Linked DNA regions of Homo sapiens: region 2 is linked to region 1. Evidence: promoter capture Hi-C in 16 types of primary human blood cells and fetal thymus (Javierre and others, 2016). All regions are on one chromosome and are shown on one strand. The core of a region is centred on a gene start or on the middle of the fragment in contact, and the rest is flanking DNA. Distances in the headings are between cores, read along the strand shown.

Region 1 (6,270 bases), core at 1,416-3,915:
TTCGAGGCAGGAGTTATTAACCCAATTACACCACGTGTCTCTAGAAGGCAAGGCCTCAGTCTTCTTTGTGTACTAACATCTATGTACTCACTGAAGAAGACTTGTAAAACATACTCATAGTCCTGGACATAGGAGTTCATGGTTTTGCCAGAGCTGTGAAGGAACCTTGAGGATGTCAGCCCTAACGAGTGGGGTGAGTACAGGAAAAATGTGATGTGGCCAATGCAAGGAAGGACACTGTTTCTCTTACTACAATAAGAAAAACAACCCGACCAAATCAACCAACAAAACCAAGCAAGAGAAATCTGATGGTGAAGTGGCGAGGAAGCAGCAAAAGCTTCTTGCAGCTGGAGTTAGGGATGCGGATGAAAGGTGGATCAAGCCAACTGCAAGTGGGGGAGGCTGCTCAACCTGGGAAAGTGCTCCATCAGCTACTTCGCCCTCTCTTCCACTGCTGCAACGCTTTTTAAAGCGACAGTCACACGCTGCAGGATTCGGAAGCGGAAATGGTCTTTGCTCATTGGATGACAATCTAAATTCAGATCGAAAGAATGTGGTTGGAGACAGCTGGTGGAAATGGTCCCAGTCTTGTCTTCACTGGAAATGTCCAATGTCCACGTGCTGCTCGTTTCTCTTCTTATGAAGCGTCTCCCTGTCTCTCTGGGCCTGTCTCTGTTTCTTCCATCGCTTTTTTCCCCACTAAGTAACCATCCCGGCGCACTGTACCCAACTGGTCGAGGAACGCCCCTGCTGTACCCATCACTGCTGGCTGCCTCGGAGATTAATGCGAGCGACTCGGGTGGTTTATGAGAAGTGACACTTAATACCCAGCTTCTTGTATCTGCCGCCGAGCAGTTAACGTTAAAGCCCGCTCTGTACCACCGCGGATGTGACTGCTGTAAATACCACGGGGCAGGGCTCTCATGCTTCAGAAACACGTAAGCAAGACGCACCGAGCCAGCCCCGGACACCCAATGACCCTGGACTGCGGCAAAGGGGGGGTGGGAAAGGAAGAGGGGAGGACCACTCGCTCTTCTCTCCTTCCTCCTCGCCCGGGCCGGAGCACGCCTTCCTCCCCGGAGGGCAGGGGAAGGTCGCTCCAGGTCGCTGGCACCTCCAGCGCCCCCGAAATCTGCAAATTCATCGCTCCCTTTCGTCTTCAGGCGAAGCCCTCCCGTCCGGAGTAGGGCCAGCCCCAGTTATGCATCTCCAGCCTTTAGCTGACTACTAAGGCGGATCCGACTTCTCCCCCATAACCAGGTTTTGATTCGCTTCCCCACCGCAGGGGTTCAGTCTCTGCTTTCGACTTTGCTTCTCAGTTGCACGCCCCGCAGTGTGGAGCTGCGCTCAAGTCTCGGCAACTTTCACCATCTTGACCCGAGAGTCGGGCCGTTTCTAAGACAATGTGAACAAAGAGGAGCAGGGGGAGGGAAGGGGGGCCCCGCGGGAGGGCTGTGGGCGAGTGTGTGTGTGTGTGTGTGTGTGTGTGTGTGTGTGTGTGTGTTGGGGGGCGCCGCGCTCCGCGCCCGCCGCCACTGGGGATCCGGGCGCAGGCAGGCTGTCCCGGGCGCAGAGCGCGCCGCCTCCAGTCTCTCTGGCGGGCCCGGCCCGGCAGGGCCCCTGGCGGCCCCCGGAGGCGGGTTTCTTTGTCCCTGACTCCCGCTGGGCGCGAAGGCCGCCGGCGGCTAACAGAAACCCGAGCCCGCGCAACGGAGCTCAGGCTTCCACGTGCGGCCCCGCAGGGCAGAGCAGGAAGGAGCGGCTGCAGCCCCGGGGCGCCCCGCAAGCATCCAGTGCCCGGCCCTCCCAGCTCCGCGGCGGGCTTCGGACGGTGGAGTGAGACACCAGAACTCGCCTTTCGCTTCCCCGAGCCGATGCACGGCTTGGGATGGCGCCGCTCGTCCTAAGCAGCGTGGTTTGAGGGCGAGAAGACGCCTACTGGAGCGCTCCCCTCCACCCAGACTCCCGAAGACGCGCGCCCGAGTCGAAGTCGGGGACAGAGAAGGTTCTCTGGCGCCCCCCTGCCGACTGCTTTGCGGCCGCCGGGACCCGAGCAGCGGGGCGGGACCTAAACATAGCCCCAACCCAAAGATGCCCAGCAGAACGCTCCAAACAAAACAGAAACGGTGGCCGCATCTGCGTGTGTGTGTGTGTGTGTGTGTGTGACGGGGGAGAGGAGTTGATCTTACCTGAAACATAGTTTGCGCTTCTGTGTGTGTGGCCGAAGAATGGAAGAGAAACTGCCATGGCCATCCGAGTCCATTAAATCAACTCCCCTTCCCTCCGACTCTCTCAACTCAGTCATATTCTATAATACAACGCAAGGTTACAGAGCCCCAGTGAAAACTAGTTTCCCAGTTTCACTCTGACCCTCCATCAATGTAGCCAGCCAGCTAGATTGTAGGTTACCGGCTTCTATTCTGCAGGAGAACTTTGAGTCTCGGGAGACTCAGGGTTTCTTCCTCCCGCCTCTCGCAGTGCATCTTTCATTTGCTTTTCTTTGTAAAGCCAGGGCTCCTCGACTGCCTCCCAGGAAGTCCTGCGCTCTGGCGCGCCGCACCTCGCCTGCCGCAGAGCGGCGCGGGCAGTAAGCCGGGCGCTAGGACCGCGGGGAGCCCGGGCTGCGGCGGCGCTACCTTAAACCCAGCCCAATGCCGCTGCCTGCGCCACTCTGCGCGCCGGCGGGGGCTGCGCAGGAGGAGCGCTCCGCCCGGCTACAACGCTCCGCGAGCCGGCGCGGCAACACCTGTTCGCGGCAGCCTGGGCGGCACGCGAGCTCCCGGACGCGGCTCTCCTCGCTCGCCGCTCGCCACCCGTTCTAAGCCAATGGACATCTGCCGAGCCTCTGGAGAATCCTGGATACTAGCTTTGGACGCCTAAAGTTTCTTCTTCTTTTTGTTTTATTATTATTATCATTTTTTGGAGGGGGGACCGGGAGGGGAGATTTGTCGCCGCCACCAACGTGAGATTTTTTTTTCCCCTTGAAGGATTCATGCTGATGTCTGCAGAGTCGGTTAGAGAGTAAAAACAGCGCATGCCTTCCTGGAGTCAGGATCCGTAAATTCTGACGTAGCCCGTGCATCTTAAAAATCCCTATAATAACGCCTAGGCATTTAAGTTGCTATGGTCATTCTGATCTCAAACCAAATGGAGAAACTACGGATTTTTTTTCCTTATTACGGTCGGATGGGATGAAGACCTTCCTGCCTGCTAAGAGCTGGGGATCTATCTATAGAGATACATAGATATGTTTATCAATATGTCAGTGTGTGAGTATAAAGTGGTGGTTTCTTAGACTATCAGTGGTTTGACCTTGAACCTGTGCCAGTGAAACAGCAGATTACTTTTATTTATGCATTTAATGGATTGAAGAAAAGAACCTTTTTTTTCTCTCTCTCTCTGCAACTGCAGTAAGGGAGGGGAGTTGGATATACCTCGCCTAATATCTCCTGGGTTGACACCATCATTATTGTTTATTCTTGTGCTCCAAAAGCCGAGTCCTCTGATGGCTCCCTTAGGTGAAGTTGGGAACTATTTCGGTGTGCAGGATGCGGTACCGTTTGGGAATGTGCCCGTGTTGCCGGTGGACAGCCCGGTTTTGTTAAGTGACCACCTGGGTCAGTCCGAAGCAGGGGGGCTCCCCAGGGGACCCGCAGTCACGGACTTGGATCATTTAAAGGGGATTCTCAGGCGGAGGCAGCTATACTGCAGGACTGGATTTCACTTAGAAATCTTCCCCAATGGTACTATCCAGGGAACCAGGAAAGACCACAGCCGATTTGGTAGGTATACCATTAACCCTTTAGTGTCCATGAGATGACATGTTGAAATTATAACTACCAAGAAGGTGGTGGCCGGGTGGGGGACGTGGGAAGGGTTCTCCCCTCCTCCCCTCTTTCTCTGTATCTCTGTCTCTCTCTCTCTCTGTCTTGCCAGCTCCGAAAAAAAAATGCCTCCGGAATTGCAGATCTGCTGCTGGCACTGATGCAAGTATACACTGAAAGGCCCCCTACTTTTAATTTAAAGGGGGGCATAATTTATAAATATAATACAAGTTTCCAGTTCTTTTGCATCAGATACACGGGTTTAGGAAGTTTCTTTTGAATGGACTGATTGCACGAGTTTAAAGCTTTAATCATTAACTACTAAGAACTTAATGCAGTTTCTTGAAGGCAGTGGGTATCTTGTGCCCAAATTAAGGTTTTTTTCCTTTCCCCCTTTCCTCTAGTAAGTATACTACTTGAATTGTATATTAAGTGCATTGTTTATTCTCCCCTGTGAGGGTCTGAAAGCCCCATAGGCGAAGGTTGCTGACGGATTGTCCTGTTGGGAGGACTAAAGTCATATTTTAGGCTCCGTGAAAAGCAGGGGCAGAGGCTTGGGGGAAAATGACTTGGGAAGAGGCAGGGCGCTCAGGGGTTTTTGTCCTTCCAGCTATCAAGTGATAACCTCTGCTTTTAAATTTCCATAGTGTGCAGCCCTGTGTAGGTCTCCTGCGTGGCTCTCTGGTGTGAGTGTGTGCGCGCGTGCAAACGCTGCGAGCGAATTTTAAAGGGCATTCCGAGGATTTCATTTTTCAGCGGAGGGTATTTGTGACTCAGCACTGAGGGCTGCAGACTCGAGGGCTGGTGGCTCTGCCCACTTTATGCTTGCACACACGTGCTTGCCGGGGCACCCTGAGCCCAACGGCACGAAGTCAACTAACACAGTCCCAATTGGGTGGACTCTTGAGTTTTTTCCTTACTTAAAAAAAAAAAAATAAGCGCCAGTTTGGGCAACTAGACTGTTGGAAGGAGTTAACTTCTGAGTGAACCCACCTGACAACACTTAAACTAGGTCGTAAAAAACAAAGTCCTCTGGTGATTTTTCTTCCTCATGCTTTAGTGCCAGATGTTGAACACAATCTAAACTGTATGTTTAGCTTCGTGCGGCTGCGGATGATGCCAGAAGGTGAGGAGGACTTAGGCCTGGGCTGGGGATGGTCCCAGATCCACGAGGCCCAGGATTTGCTCCTCATGCTCACCCCTGAGCCTAAGCCCACAGCTGAGCCTAGTAGTGTGAAATTGCTCCGGCCGTCTCCACTCGCTGCTTAAAAAAAAGTTATAGCTCTTTGCTTTGCAATTATTCAGTTGAAATATAACTATCCCCTCCCCACCCCAGAAGTAAAGGTAGATTCTGGTTGTTGCAAAGAGAAGACTAAACTTTACTAAAAGTGCCGTTTCCATCTGGCCTCTTTAAGGGCTGCCACCCTGCCTAGCGTTCGATACCAGAACAACAGGCAGTGGGCGGCCCTGGGTGGGCGAGCGAGCGTGTCCGGGGCCGCGGCGGCCACCCGCAGGGTGTCGGGGCCGCGCCGACCGAAGCGAGCGGCGTGGGCGGCCGGCCTAGGTGTGCCAGGCGGCCGGAGCTCCAGCCCTCCCGCGCTCGCGGTCGGCAGGTGCCCGCTCGGCCGCCCGGGCCCCGCGGCGCACTTAGCGGCTGCCCGGCCGGCTCCGCGCGGTCCTAAACGCGCTCGCGTTCCGGCTCCCTTTCCGCCTGGCTCGGGTGCGCCCTTCAGTGCTGCGGGGACCACGGGGGCCGGGGGGCGGCAGGCAGGGGCTGACACACTTCTGGCCGCGTTTAGGGAATCCGGTTTTTCATTTTGGCCCAAGTTGAGCCCCTTCGCTTTCTCTTTGTGTGTGAGAGTGGGTCTGGCGGGGCTGACAGCCGCCGCCCTGGGCTGCACGGTGGTTTGCGGTGTGGGAACGGCTGGAGGCGCGCGCAGCGGCAGGAGAGTTGGTGGCGGGGACAGAGGACGGGCTGGAGGTCGGACCCCTGAGCTCCCCTGTCCCATTCCGTGTCCTTCTTCTGAAGCACGCAGCCGGGTTTTGGAGACTCGAAGGGCTCCGTGGTGCCCGGGAGGTGGGTCGGGGGCCCCTGGCCGGAGCCGCAGGGAAAGGAGTGGGGGTGGGGGGGACAAAGGGCCGCGGAGGCGGGCGGAGGGGGCGGCGTGCTATTGTTAACCGCTTTCCGAGAGCAGAGCTCGCGAGCTCGCCGATCGCGATCTGGCTTTCCCGCGCCCCCGCCTCCGCTCCGGCTTCACAACCGGGGGAGCCCGGGGTGTGCGCGGGAGCGCGGCGGGGGCGCACGGCTGCAGGGGCGCCGCGGCGGGCCCGAGCCGGTTTTATTGTGTGGATCAGCCGAGCCTGTCTTTGAGAGACCCTATTAGAACTCCGGTGCAGCACGACTGGGCCCTGGTGTGCAGAGATTATGGGATATTCTAGTTGGCGC
Region 2 (6,270 bases), core at 2,707-5,206, 1.1 Mb after region 1:
GGTGTGCCAGCATGCCGGTGCCTGTCGCTGTGTTCCTCTAGGCATCCAGCCGCCCGTGCGCTCCTCTGCCTATCTGCTCCTCTCTAGGCCCAGCAGCTTGTGTGTCTGCCTGCTAGGGTTGTGGCCGGGGCAGGGGTGGTGGGGTGGTTATAGGCGTGGCAGTCCAGGGTGATCTTGGGAAATGCAACAAAAATGCCTGTCCTCACCCAGTGGTGGAGCCCTCGCCGGGGACCATCCTTCCTCTACCCAGCACTTCCGTTCCCCACTTCCATATCATTTAAAGGGACCAGCTCTTCCCTTCCCAGCACTTCCCTTCCATATCACTTCCATCACCAACATGGGCAGTTAGGTGTTAATCGGAGAATCTGAATCACAAAGAATGACTTCTAAATAAAAGAGCCTTTAAAAACTCTCATCTGATGTTTTGGTTGAAAGATGCTAAAAATACAATAAAATAAAAACTAAGCTCATTCAAGAGAAATATTAAAATATCCTCCAGCCAGCAAAAGTACTCCTTAAAATATTACGCCAATAACACAACTTTTAATTTTATTTTAAAAATATGTTTCTTCTATGAGTTAATGTGATATTTTAAAAAGATAACTGTAAATATCAAATGGCCCTGCAGCTCCCTTTCCATGTATTTATGCTTAGTGGTGATTCAGAGACCTTGCTGTGATAATCATTTTCAACTTAATCTTAGACTCAACAGAGAAATACTCCCTGAAGAAATAAGTACAGATTGTAGTTTGAAAAGGAAATGACATTTCAACTTTTTTATTTACTCATTCTTGTTTCACTTTAATATAGTGTCATGCAAATATAATTTCCCCTAAGTCAAGTAAAATAGAAGCATTAATTTGGTTTCCACTCTTGTATCTATATTTTCTGTGTGCATATGTAGAGGTATGAATTTCTAAAGAGAGAAAATATTTTTTCTTTTTTCTAAACATGTGTCATTATATATATATATATATATATATATTTTTTTTTTTTTTTTTTTTTTTTTTTTTGAGACAGAGTCTTGCTCTGTTGCCCAGGCTGGAGTGCAGTGGCACAATCTCAGCTCACCGCAACCTCCGCCTCCTGGGTTCATGCCATTCTCCTGCCTCAGCCCCCTCCCCGAGTAGCTGGGACTACAGGGGCCCGCCACCACACCCGGCTAATTTTTTGTATTTTTAGTAGAGATGGGGTTTCACCGTGTTAGCCAGGATGGTCTCAATCTCCTGACTCGTGATCCGCCAGTCTTGGCCTCCCAAAGTGCTGGGATTACAGGCATGAACCACCTCACCCGGCCACCTATGTCCAATATTCTATACTGTGGGACAGAATTACATTACGAAACCTTCCAAAAGTTGTTAAAACCCATTATGTGCTAATAGAAAAAATAATTTTCTTGTGTTTGCAGTTATTCATGTGATGAATCTAACTTCATGAGCATTATATTTAGAATTCAGTATGAATTTCTACCCTATCAGCTGTAGCGTGGATTCTCTGAAAGACAATGGAGATTAAACAATTTTACTGTACAGAACTGCATGCTGGCTCATGGTCTCAATTTTGAAGTTAAATGAAATGAAAAGTGTAGATTTTTTTTTTTTTTTGAGACAGAATTTTGCTCTTGTTGCCCAGGCTGGAGTACACTGGCTCAATCTTGGCTCACCGCAACCTCTGCCTCCTGGGTTCAAGTGATTCTCCTCCCTCAGCCTTCTGAGTAGCTGGCATTACAGGCATGCACCACCATGCCAGGCTAATTTTGTATTTTTAATAGAGATGGGGTTTTCCATATTGGTCAGACTGGTCTCGAACTCCCAACCTCAAGTGATCTGCCTGCCTCAGCCTCCCAAAGTGCTGGATTGCAACTATTTCCTGAAATCCATTACTTTCATAAAGAAATCTACTCTTAACACCAAGCCTGTGCCTGACCAAACACCACTGTCCCAATACATCAGTGATATATTTACTCCCCACTAATTATTTCCTTGAGATTTTTTGAATTATTAACTTTTCTACAGAATAAAGAAACATAATTATGAAGACAAATGTTATAATTCACTATGTTGAGAAATAGTTTAACATGAATTATACTTTAAGCCCATGGATGAAAGTTTGTTCTTGGTAATTTTCTTTCAACACAATGACTTTTACCCCATTCTTAAGCAATTTAAACACCTAACAGGATTGCAAACACTTTCTGTCATCTTCACTAGGCCATTGGTTAATTTCTGAAAGTCTACAGAAAAATAAATTTAAAAAGCAATGCACTTCTAATTATAAGATGTGAGTTCTGCCAGGTTCACCCCTATGCCCCACAAAAATTAACTTTTGGTGGTTTCAGATTTCTCATCCCCAACACTGCCTCACCTAAATGGAGCTGGATTTGATGTGTAATTGACAACTTTTCAACACCTACAATTTTTGACATATTCTAATCCATATTGGTAGCTCTATTTTTAAGTATATTTTCTGCTGAAAATACTATTGCCACTAATAATACATGTCTACCTTTTTATTAATCAATAGTAGATGCATGTCCAGTTACCTAGCTATTTAGGGTTTCTTGTGAGAATGAAATAATAATTATTGTCAACTGTTACTGATGATACATGTCTACCTTTTTGTTAATCAATAGTAGATGCATGTCTAGTTACTTAGCTATTTAGGGTTTCCTGTGAGAATGAAACAATCATTGTTGTCATTCTTAATTGATGTAACTTTAGCCAAAAGAAAAAAGTCTTAATATTTCAAGTAGTCTGAACTGCATCAGCACCAACGTAGCTTAGATCCCTTTTCTCAATTTTATATTGGGAACCATTTCACCAGATGATCTCAGATACTTTCCCTCACAACCATTTGATAAAGCATCATTCAATCACTCACAAGCAAGTTGAAAAAGCATCGTGATGTCTTTAAAGTATAATCCTGCCATGTCAACTTTAAAAATGAAACATATTTAGGCTATACCATCAGCTGTAGCAAGCAGGGATCCTATGCAGATTTTCAGGTACTTCTCCCATCCAATGGGTTCACTGCAGTATTGCTGTATTGAATTTCCACATGAGGAGCCAGCAATCTACACTGAAGGAGAATGTACCTGTCTACTGGCACAACGCAGCAAGAGCCCTATGTATGGAACACCTTCAGGCCACACCCTGAGGAACAGACAAAGTTATATGCAGTTCAGTATCCGTCTTCTTACAAACTATTTGATAGAACAAGATATAGCCACATTTCATAAACCGAATAATACAGCATAACAAATTGTCCGGGACAATTAATTATATAGTGACTGCTATGACTTCTGAAGAGTCTCGGGAAAGCTTCATGGATAAGTCTGACTCAAATCAACAAGAAGGATGGTTGTGATTTAGATTGGCTGAAGCAAGGAGGCCACCATTCCAGACCAGAAATCTCTTTCCAAAGAGCAAAATCAAACTAATTTTTAGGGGCAGAAAACATGTTTTCTTGCTTGAACTAGTGTATTCTGAAGGAGCGACAGCTAAAGATATTTACATTAGAAAGAAACAACTAATTAGTGATGATCCTGTGTGATATGGTTTGGCTGTGTTCCTACCCAAATCTCATCTTGAATTGTAGTTCCCATAATCCCCACATGTAGTGGGTAGGGCCCAGTGGAACGTAATTGAATCATGGGGGCAGTTACCCTCATGCTGTTCTCTTGATAGTGATTGAATTCTCACTAGAGTTGATTGTTTTATAAGGGGATTTTACCCCTTGGCTTGGCATTTCTCTCTCCTGCTGCCTTGTAAGAAGGACATGTTGCTTCCCCTTCCACCATGATTGTAAGTTTCCTGAGGCCTTCCCAGCAATGTGGAGCTGTGAGTCAATTAAATCTTTTTCCTTTATAAATCACCCAGTCTCGAGTATTTCTTCATAGCAGCGTGAGAACAGACCAATACACTGTGTTACTCAGATTATATGCAAAAGTTCATTGAAAAAAAGAAAACATTTGCACAGATCATTAGTTTGAGAAAAGGTGATTCTTTCCCTTTCGCACTTACCAGGAAGATAAAAGGAAGGAGCTGATGAGCACATAAGAAAGGAGTTGTGAGTACAAGGATTTTTATCACAGAGACCAGCAGTAAAGCAGTTTCCTGAGAATGGCCCAAGAGAAGCACGGAAGGAAATTTATATTAAAATTCTGGTGTATTTCCCAGATGTTTCCCACGTCTAGACAGTTAGTGAACAGAGATGAATATCTTTAGTCTTACTTAATGTAGCAAAAATCTCCCCTTTTTAAAATGTCTGCCTAGACTTCCAAAGTGGGTGTGACTTAGAACTGATAGTCAAAGTATGACTCAAACAATAGGAAGCTAATGTGAATTTATCTAATTTTTGTGTTCTGTTTTCATAAGGAGAGCTGATAGTTTCCTTGGTATCAAGACCTTTTTTAAAAGGAAAAAAAATAAGAAAATGGAAAACAACAAAAACAAAAAAAAAACAGTTGATCTGATTCTGTGGCCTGACCAAAATACCTAGTGTCAAATGCTTTTGTAAAAAAAAATTCAACTTTCTTGGAATTGTTTTGTGACATTAAGATAGTGTTAGTTCCCATATCCTATCTCTCATATGAAGCTTCATTGAATTCCAGCATAGGAAGAGACTCAAGAATTCAGCTACTCCTACCTTTCACTGCAGAAGCTATGATGGAGCCCAGGGAGTATTTTTAATGAGCCAACAACCTCATCCTAATGCCAAAAAGCTCTCTGTAGTTATTTTGAAAATGCAAGATGGTCATCATCTCATCAGAGAAGGAATGTATAGGTACAGATTAATAAATACACGAATGAAAAAAATCCATGCCACTTTCTCAGTGTGGTAAAGAATTTTCATGACCACTGATGAATACAATACTTTACTTTGATTTATTGTAGCTAAAAAGAAATTTTTTTAAGAAAAATTGTTTCTGAGAAAGGCAGAGTTGAATTAGTTTGAGAAGAATTTGAGCCTGAGGAAAGAAGCATTATCACTGCTGCATCCTTGGCAGCCTAGCAGAGAATTCTGGTAACTCTTACACTTAAATTTCCATTCTGGGACTGAGAACCTGCTTTCTTACAGGTTTTGCTTAGGAAGTACAGCACATCTGATGACTTCTGCTTAGAGATTGTCACATCTTGAAAAATATTTCCTTCATATAGAGTGCATAGGACTCTAGACTTTAAAATATCCACGTTTGATATAGACATGTTAATTAACTTTAGCACTGTACTAAGTGACTCTCTAGTGTCCGGAGTACTACATGGAGCACGCATACTTCTGAGTCAAGTGATTATTAAAGCCAATCAAAGATGCCCATTTATGTAGTATGAGCTGCATTATTTTTCAATTTAAATATGGTGTTGTCATAGAAAAGTCAACATGAACAAATGTGAGAGGAAAATCAGTGTGATAATTCCAACCTTCGAAATACTGGAAGAGTAGACAGTGTTGCCTTAGACATGATTGGATTCTTTACATCTGTCACTGTCCCCTCTAACTGAGTTCCAGCTTCATGGTCTCAAGAGGCTTGAGTTCATTTTTTTAACAGAAATATCTCTCCCCAAATCACTTACATCACAGGAACATTTAAAAAATAGAAGAGAACACAAAAAAAGCTCCTAAGTGGTAGTTACTGAAGCTACACACAAAAAAGCATAGGGCCTTATTTCCAAATTTACACTAAGTAATTATCTTACTTCATTTTCTCATTATATGATTTTAAGAAATCCATGATAGAAATGTAATATGAAAATACAACCAAAGTCTTTAATACTAATTCCTATAGTGTTAAAATACTGTGAGCACGGAAGAAAAAATCAACAAAACTAGGGTAGTAGCATCGTCCTAGAAATTCTTTAAATAATTGAATAAGTAAAAACGTATTGCTAGGTAAAAACATCTTATATCCAGCCCATTGATGATATTAGGTCCTCAGTAATTGTTGAATTGCAAATTCGTAAGACTACTGTTATTTTTTTTTATTTTTTTTTTTTTTTTTTTTGAGCAGAGTATTGCTCTGTCGCCCTGGCTGGAGTCAGTGGTGCAATCTCGGCTCACTGCAAGCTCTGCTTCCCGGGTTCACGCCATTCTCCTGCCTCAGCCTCCCAAGTAGCTGAGACTACAGGCGCCCGCCACCACGCCCGGCTAATTTTTTGTATTTTTAGTAGAGACGGGGTTTCACTGTGTTGGCCAGGATGGTCTCGATCTGCTGACTTTGTGATCCGCCCGCCTCGGCCTCCCAAAGTTCTGGGATTACAGGCGTGAGCCACC

Evidence for each region. The method cuts DNA at HindIII sites, captures the fragments that hold promoters and counts their contacts. A CHiCAGO score of 5 or more calls a contact.
Region 2: a fragment that was not itself captured here is called in contact with the fragment with the promoter of FGF9 in region 1 in 4 of 17 cell types (M2 macrophages, megakaryocytes, M0 macrophages and 1 more); the score reaches 7.2 in M2 macrophages.

What each region holds. Positions count from the first base shown.
Region 1 is chr13:21,668,408-21,674,677 of GRCh38, forward strand. FGF9 (fibroblast growth factor 9) reads left to right here and starts at 2,666. Exons shown (of 3, transcript NM_002010.3): 1 at 2,666-3,782. The coding sequence starts at 3,506. RefSeq lists silencers at 1,484-1,743, 2,524-2,573, 2,594-2,653, 5,260-5,479, 5,500-5,629. The HindIII fragment of the contact is 3,792 bases long and covers 336-4,127 here.
Region 2 is chr13:22,745,159-22,751,428 of GRCh38, forward strand. No RefSeq gene overlaps it. Among named protein-coding and RNA genes, the nearest start is that of LINC00621, 170 kb to the right of the region's middle. The HindIII fragment of the contact is 1,276 bases long and covers 3,319-4,594 here.